Regions from separate parts of the Homo sapiens genome. Here regions 2 and 3 are each linked to region 1. Evidence: promoter capture Hi-C in human tissues and cell types (Jung and others, 2019). All regions are on one chromosome and are shown on one strand. The core of a region is centred on a gene start or on the middle of the fragment in contact, and the rest is flanking DNA. Distances in the headings are between cores, read along the strand shown. Region 1 holds the start of CTDSPL2 (CTD small phosphatase like 2). Region 2 overlaps FRMD5 (FERM domain containing 5). Region 3 overlaps FRMD5 (FERM domain containing 5).

What was found. The method cuts DNA at HindIII sites, captures the fragments that hold promoters and counts their contacts. A contact is called where the count stands out against the background at its distance.
Region 2: a fragment that was not itself captured here is called in contact with the fragment with the promoter of CTDSPL2 in region 1 in 1 of the 25 tissues and cell types used here (dorsolateral prefrontal cortex).
Region 3: a contact is called between a fragment that was not itself captured here and the fragment with the promoter of CTDSPL2 in region 1, in 1 of the 25 tissues and cell types used here (dorsolateral prefrontal cortex).

The regions. Positions count from the first base shown.
Region 1 is chr15:44,426,201-44,428,916 of GRCh38, forward strand. CTDSPL2 (CTD small phosphatase like 2) reads left to right here and starts at 1,429. Exons shown (of 13, transcript NM_016396.3): 1 at 1,429-1,572. It overlaps LOC124903479 (a long non-coding RNA gene), which reads left to right. Exons shown (of 3, transcript XR_007064605.1): 3 at 94-117. RefSeq lists enhancers at 331-938, 593-822, 939-1,546, 1,103-1,482, 1,547-2,153. The HindIII fragment of the contact is 11,921 bases long and covers 1-2,716 here.
Region 2 is chr15:44,036,745-44,039,444 of GRCh38, forward strand. The region is part of intron 1 of FRMD5 (FERM domain containing 5); the gene reads right to left. Among named protein-coding and RNA genes, the nearest start is that of FRMD5, 160 kb to the right of the region's middle. The HindIII fragment of the contact is 3,739 bases long and covers 1-2,700 here.
Region 3 is chr15:43,931,375-43,934,074 of GRCh38, forward strand. The region is part of intron 1 of FRMD5 (FERM domain containing 5); the gene reads right to left. Among named protein-coding and RNA genes, the nearest start is that of WDR76, 110 kb to the left of the region's middle. The HindIII fragment of the contact is 4,303 bases long and covers 1-2,700 here.

The DNA of each region.
Region 1 (2,716 bases), core at 179-2,678:
CACTCTCATGTGTTTTACAACGCCTATCATGCCATCCTTGTATTCGCTTTATCAGTTTTTAAATTCTGTTTACTTGGGTGTCTTCTTCAATAGATTATGATCTTTGGCCGGGCGCGGTGGCTCACGCCTGTAATACCAGCACTTTGGGAGGCCGAAGCGGGCGGATCACGAGGTCAGGAGTACGAGACCAGCCTGACCAACGTGGTGAAACCCCGTCTCTACTAAAAATACAAAAATTAGCCGGTCGTGGTGGCGCGCGCCTGTAATCCCAGCTTCTCGGGGGGCTGAGGCAGAAGAATCGCTTGAACCCGGGAGGTGGAGGTTTGAGCCGAGATCGCGCCACTGCACTCCATCCTGGGCGACAGAGTGAAGACTCCGTCTCGAAAAAAAAAAAAAATCATTACCTTTGGGGAAGGCAGTATCCGTGTCTGCCTGGCTCACTGTTTTACCCGTCGCACCTAGTTATTTTTTCAATAAATATTTCTTGATTGAATAAGGAGAGTGGCTTGGAGTTTCAGTGAAAAATGTTCTTCCAAACACTAGGCTTGGTTTTCCGATACCCCACTAGAACTGGATTCTCTGGACTGATACATTTTCACTCTGTGGAGCTGACCGTCCTTTGACCTAGGGTCGCAGGTGGGAGCCCACTGGCCTGAAAGATCCGAGTTTTCAACCTGCAGAATCACCGCCAACATAGGGTTGAGTCGAAGGGCATGAATATTTATGATCCAAAAGCGACTGCTACGCCCTCTAGGCAATGAGCTGGAAAGGGAACCTTCAAGGGCCACCGAAATCCCAGGAAAGGCGCCAGATTCGCTTTCTCCCGGCCTCAGGCAGCTCTCCCTACGAACTACCTCCTCCAGCGCGCCAAGCCGTTAGTCCCGCCTTATCCCCTCAGCTCCACCTACCCAGCGCGCCCACAGTTACTAAACCCTAGCCGCCAGGGTGCACTACGCGTTCCTAAGCCCCGCCTCCGGGGCAAGGGCGCGCTCCCCCTCCCAGCTCTGCCCAAGCAGTTCCGTTAGGAGCGGGAGGAAAAACCGTCCTTCGGGTCCCCGCCTCTCCACTCCTAACGCTTTACTCCCTACTCCCCCTGCGACCACTACACAGCCGGCTACGGAGGCCCCTAATGTACAAATATCCCCCAGGCCCTTGCTCATCCTGATAGGTTTTGTCCTTTCTTAATCGACCCAGTACTAAGGCCTTGTGTTCAGTTTTTCTCCAGGATTCAGACTAGAGAGTTTCTTCCGGCGTAAGGAACTTCAACGCTCTTCACGGAAGTAAAAGTGTTTTTTTGGTTGTTGTTGCCGTTGTGGCTGCCCGCATTCCTTCCCTCCCACCTCGCGGAATTGTGGCGGGAGGGGGAGGAGGAAGTCAGGGCGCCTGCGCGGAGAGGCCGCTTTCCATCCGGGTCCCTGTCCGTGCGGTGCAGCAGGTCGGTAGGCGGGAAATGGCGACTGGCTGAAGGAGCTGGTTCTGTTGCTGCTGCGGGGTAAGCGGGAAAGACACCACACATTGCGCAGTCGGGACCATCGCCGGAGCCTGAGGACACTTCTCTGTCGTCACAGTTAGGTAATCCCCTTCGTCCAGACGCCGCCGCTGCTTCCAATCTCAGTCCTCCTCCTCTTCCAGGGCCGTCTGCCGGGATCTCCTCCCCTTCTAAACCTGGTCCTCCAGCGGCTCTGGCGCCTTGGTAGGCATGCACTCTTTGGCGCCTCGTACGTCCACTGTGCGGAGCCGCTCCTGTCTGGACTTTCCCCTGGGAACAGAAAGGGAGCTCACTTCCCGCCAGCTTCACCTCTTAGGTTGCGGCCTGCGTTGTGATTTCTGGGGTTAGATTTCACTTTGCTACCCACCCCCACTCCGATCTCAAGTTCCTAGTCCCCAACCTCTGGGTAATTAAGTTAGAAGTTTAGCTTTTTTTAACCTTTTTGGCCCACCTCATGTTTTCAGCATTTCATTCTTTGGAGTAGGGTGCTTTTAGGGGGGCGTTGCTCTTATCTCAGTTCTTATAAACACCTTTTCAGAATCTGGAAGAAGGGATTTGACTAAGTTCTGTTTATCTTTTGTACTGTTAAAATCTCGAGTTGACATTGTTACTTTTTCAAATCGGGAGTGGTAGTAAAGAACAGTCCATGTGGAAGGCGTCTGGTTTCCACAGTGGTCAGTTAAAGAGTGAACCTTATTATCCTTAATATTCTCTGCTTTCTTTGGATTTTAAATGTCTGTATGGGTGTTTACTTTTGCATTCTTGACCAGAGTTCTGTGGTAAATAATTGCATAAGTAAATCTTGTTTATTTACTTCTCACCCTAGTGGTGGCTGGATGTGTGAATGATGTTAAACACTTCAGCGTACCTTAGGGAAACCTAAAGAGATCTAAGAGCTCGTAAACTTACCTGAGATCCTGAAATGAAACGTACTCAGTAGATGTTCCTCCGAGGCAGGGATTTATCTTCCTAATGCTGGTAACGCAGTACCAAGATGAATTTCTTCAGTGGGTATACAAATTAGTGACTTGAAATGATGGATTTATCTGTGTAATTTTCAAATTGTAGATTGCTTTGTCTCCCCATTCTTCGCCCAGTTTTAAATTTTCGTTCCTGGTCCATTTTTTATTCTTAGAAAAGGGAAATGGCGTGTTAAAGCTAGTTTTACTATATTTCTTTACTTTTTCTTTCCTTTTTTTTAAATTACATTGCAGACCAATTGTTCAT
Region 2 (2,700 bases), core at 151-2,650, 390 kb before region 1:
TTCTTTCTAATCCTTATACTTTTTTGTTTTGTGCATCGGCCTTCAGTACAGTGGTAAAGAAGCAGTGCTGGTGAGCATCCTGATCATATTCCTGACTCTGCCACTTCTTTTGGATCTTCTTCCCTACTTGGTCACTAAAAGGTTCTGGTAAAGGACTCTAATGAAATTCTTGTTGTTAAATCCAACAGGTACTTTTCAATCATTATTTTGCCTGACTGTTAGGCAGCACTCAACATTACAACTACAGTTTTTTTTTTAATACTTTAAGTTCTGGGATACATGTGCAGAATGTGCATGTTTGTTACATAGGTATGCATGTGCCACGGTGGTTTGCTCTACCCATCAGCCTGTCAACTACATTAGGTATTTCTCCTAATGCTATCCCTCCCCTAGCTCCCCCAACCCCCGACAGGCCCTGGTGTGTGATATTTCCCTCCCTGTATTCATGTGTTCTCATTGTTCACCTCCCACTTATGAGTGAGAACATACGGTGTTTGGTTTTCTGTTCCTGTGATAGTTTGCTTAGAATGATGGTTTCCAGCTTCATCCATATCCCTGCAAAGGACATGAACTCATCCTTTTTTATGGCTGCCTAGTATTCCATGGTATATATGTGCCACATTTGCTTTATCCAGTCTATCATTGATGGGCATTTGAGTTGGTTCCAAGTCTTTGCTATGGTGAATAATGCCTCAATACACATACGTGTACATGTGTCTTTTCTCTTTTTTTTTTTTTTTTTGATATGGAGTCTTGCTCTGTCGCCAGGCTGGAGTGCAGTGGCGCAATCTCAGCTCACTGCAACCTCTGCCTCCCAGGTTCGAGCAATTCTCCTGCCTCAGCCTCCCAAGTAGCTGGGACTACAGGTGCATGCCGCCACACCCAGCTTTTTTTTTTTTTTATAGTTTTAGTAGAGTTGGGGTTTCACCATGTTGACCAGGAAATGGTCTTGATCTCTTGACCTCATGATCCACCTGCCTCGGCCTCCTAAAGTGTTGGGATTACAGGTGTGAGCCACTGTGCCCAGCAACATGTGTCTATAGTAGAATGATTTATAATCCTTTGGTTATATACCTATTAATGGGATTGGTGGTCAAATGGTATTTCTGGTTCTAGATCCTTGAGGAATCACCACACTGTCTTCCACAATGGTTGAACTAATTTACACTCCCACCAACAAAAGCATTCCTATTTCTCCACATCTTCTCCAGCATCTGTTGTTTCCTGGCTTTTTAGTGATTGCCATTCTAACTGGTGTGAGATGTTATCTCATTGAGGTTTTGATTTGCATTTCTCTAATGACCAGTGATGATGAGCTTTTTTTCATATGTTTGTTGGCCACATAAATGTCTTCTTTTGAGAAGTGTCTGTTCATATCCTTCACCCACTTTTTGATGGGGTTTTTTTTATTGTAAATTTAAGTTCTTTGTAGATTCTGGATATTAGCCCTTTGTCAGATGGATAGATTGCAAAAATGTTCTCCCATTCTGTAGGTTAACTGTTCACTCTGATGATAGTTTCTTTTGCTGTGCAGAAGCTCTTTAGTTTAATTAGATCCCATTTGTCAATTTTAGTTTTTGTTGCCATTGCTTTTGGTGTTTTAGTCATGAACTCTTTGCCCATGCTTATGTCCTGAATGGTATTGCCTAGGTTTTCTTCTAGGATTTTATGGTTTTAGGTCTTATGTTTAAGTCTTTAATCCATCTTGGGTTAATTTTTGTATAAGGTGTAAGGAAGGGGTCCAGTTTCAGCTTTCTGCATATGGCTAGCCAGAGCTTTTTTTTTTTTTTTTTTTTATAACAATTCTCAGTGGCTGTCAAGATGGCTGAATAGGAACAGCTCCAGTCTGCAGCTCCCAGCAAGATCAATGCAGAAAACAGGTGATTTCTGCATTTCCAACTGAGGTACCCAGTTCATCTCATTGGGACTGGTTGGACAGTGGGTGCAGCCCACAGAGGGCGAGCTGAAGCAGGGTGGGGCATTGCCTCACCCGGGAAGCACGAGGGGTCAGGGGATTTCCCATTCCTAGCCAAGGGCAGCCTTGAGAGACTGTACCGGGAGGAACAGTGCACTGCGGCCCAGATATTGCACTTTTCCCATGGTCTTCACAACCGGCAGACCATGAAATTCCCTCCAGTGCCTGGCTCGGCAGGTCCCACCCCCATAGAGCCGAGCAAGCTAAGATCCACTGGCTTGAAATTCTTGCTGCTAGCACAGCAGTCTGAGGTCGACTTAGAATGCTCAAGCTTTGTAGGGGGAGGGGCATCCACCATTGCTAAGGATGGAGTAGGTGGTTTTGCCCTCACAGTGTAAACAAAGCCTCTCGTAAGTCTGAACTGGGCGGAGCCCACCACAGCTCAGCAAGGCTGCTGTGGCCAGACTGCCTCTCTAGGCAGGGCATCTCTGAAAAAAAGGCAACAGCCTCAGTCAGGGACTTACAGATAAAACCCCCATCTCCCTGGGACAGAGCACCCGGGGGAAGGGGCAGCTGCAAGTGCAGCTTCAGCAGACTTAAATGTCCTTGCCTGACAGCTCTTAAGAGAGCAGCAGATCTCCCAGCACAGCATTCAAGCTCTGATAAGGGACAGGCTGCCTCCTCAAGTGGGTCCCTGACCCCTGTGTATTCTGACTGGAAGACACCTCCCAGTAGGGGCCAACAGACATCTCATATAGGAGAGCTCTCGCTGGCAACTGGCAGGT
Region 3 (2,700 bases), core at 162-2,661, 490 kb before region 1:
CTGTCTCTCTCTCTCTCTTCTCTTTCTCTCTCACACTTATACCCCCCGATCCCCACTCCCAACACACACACACATTCTCTAATACAGCTGCACTTCTCATACAACGCTGCTTCAAATAACTTGTAAAGAAAATCTAGAATTTGGGGAAAGATCGACTTCCCCTTGCTCCAACCCTAAGGACAGTTTGACAACTCATTTTATTGCTGCTTTTTTCTTTTTTTTTTTGCAAAAGACAAATGCATGTTTGGCAAAATCTGGGAATTTCTGGGGTTTTAGGGAGTATCCTGGATGGCCAGGGTCAGGAGAAATATGATAAACTCACTGGTCCTCATAACTCTTTGATTATTTCCCTCCTCTTCACAAAAAAATTGTTTACTGGCCAGTGCCAACATATGTGATGGATCCTGAGGTAGACACATTTCATTAGCAAACAGGTCAGGATCTTTGAGTCCTGAGTGCAGTCTGGGTGCAGTTTCCTTTTCAACTCTCCTATCAGGTTACTTATGTTCCTTAGAAGTTGAGGCACAGGGAGCAGAAAGGGGAGGAGCTCTGGGAAGGCAAAGGCTTTGAGAACGAGCACTAAGTAGACTTAGAGTCAAGGCCCTGGTCTGCCACTTCTCAGCTTGTGATCTCAGACCCATCCCTTAATGTACTCAAGCTTCAGCTTCCTTATCTCTAAAACAGAGTTAATCTTACATCTAAGGATGACTGTGGGGCTAAAATCAAGACACAAAATATACATAAAAACCCTGTGAGTTTTCGTGCCAACTTCCTCAGCCTCTTGAGACCTCTTCTTCCTCCAGGATGGATGGACTTGAATGCACAAGGCCTCAGCAATGAGTCAATGCACTCAAGGAACAGAAGCCTGTCCTCCCTGGACAAGAATGCATGAATGGATCTTGGCTACATGTCCACCTTGTAGTGTCCCCAAGATCTGGGAGTGGCTACCATTTTGGAAATATGCCCAAAGTGGCTCTTAAAGTACAAATCTGCGTCTTCTTCTTACCCAAGGCTATTTTTTTCCTGATCAGAAGAGTAGAAAATTTCAAATATATGTAATCAAACCAAATCCCCTCAGAAGCCTGGCAGCCTCTAATCAGTGCCACAGAGACAAAGGCAGAGCTTCTGTGACAGGCTCCTGACATGCTCCCTAGAAAGGAGGAGCTGAATAAGGGGAATAAGATATGACACAATTCCAATAGACACTATACCTTTTAATGCCTTGGCTTTAATTAGAATAAAAAGAAAAAAAGCATTTGGCAAAATATATTTCAAGAAATTAACTCAGCGTCCTGATCTCTCTCAAAAAACAGAACAGGTTCCCTCTGTAGTTAAACCTATGGGAGCTACCTGTAGCATTAGACTCTTCCCCCTGGGATTCCCCAGGGCACTGCACAACAGGATATTGACAGATAAATGAGAGAGGGATGGGCAAGTAGGGCCCACAGCTCTCTGACTGAAGCCCCAACTTCCCCAGAGCATGCCCAGTCACACACAGCTGCTGGCATCCTATCCCAGGACCAGACAAGTCATTTTCACTGCTTCTCCTGAGAAGGACAGCCAGGGCCTCCCTTGAAAGCCCCTTGTCACAGCAAACAGAACTCTGAAGAAGAGTTCCATGGTCTGCCTTGATCTGTGGTCCCACTAGAGGAACAAAAGCCACGTTTATGCCTCCCTTCCCAGCACTGAGTAGAAACAACCTCACTGGAACAACAATAGTGAGAGTCCCAGGAGAGGAGTGAGACAGCTGGGGCCCAGAGCCAGACAGATGGGTGGAGAGACAGTTTCCTGTACAAATACCGAGGCCTAGGAAAGCAGCAGGACAAACCCCGAATCTTCCAATAGTGGTTGTCCCACTGGTGGAGGAGAAGAGGAGAAGGAGGCAAGATAGGAGGCAGACAGCTAGCTCACTCAGAAGGCTGACTTTCCTTAATAAACAGCAAATTAGGAAGCATACCATACTCCGGACCATTGGTTCTCACACCTGAGTCCACCTCAGAATCACCTGGAGGGCTTGTTAAAATACAGATTGCTGGGCCCCGCCCCTAAAGTTTCTAGTTCATAGGTCTGCTGTGGGGCCTGGGAATTGGCATTTCTAACAAGTTCCCAGGTGATGCTGCTGTTGCTGGTCTGGGGATTACTGGCATCTGATGGTCTTGTAGCTCTTGAAGCCAAGATTACAGGGATAAGGGAAAGAGAAGCAGATATTTGACCTCTGTCACAATCCAACTCTGTTAGCACAAACCCCACTTTCATTAACCTTCCACGTTTTCATATAACAAGAGTACCAACTTCAGAGCATTAGACTGTGAGTTAAATATTACAGAGAAACACTGCTTCTTCCTACCAGGTTTTTAAATTCTGCCTTTCATGACAGTGGGCAGCTACCCAACTCTGGCTTGCAAGTTCGAGTCCCCAATTACCATTTATTTTCAATGGCTAACTAGCTCAAAACTCACTGCACTTTTGCTATGAACTAGATCATCAGAAAATAAAGCCAGCAGTTATCATCAAACTCAATCCGGGGAAAGAACTCCCCTTCTCACCCCAGATCTGCTGTCAGTGACAGGGAGTCTGTTCCAGAACATGTCCTATCCTGGCCTTTGGGCTCTCTTGTCTAGGAGGCGGGGCTGGAAGGTGCCCCAGTACCTCATCCTGCTGTCTCCTCCCTACATCTACGCTCCTTGAGGCTCCTTAGTC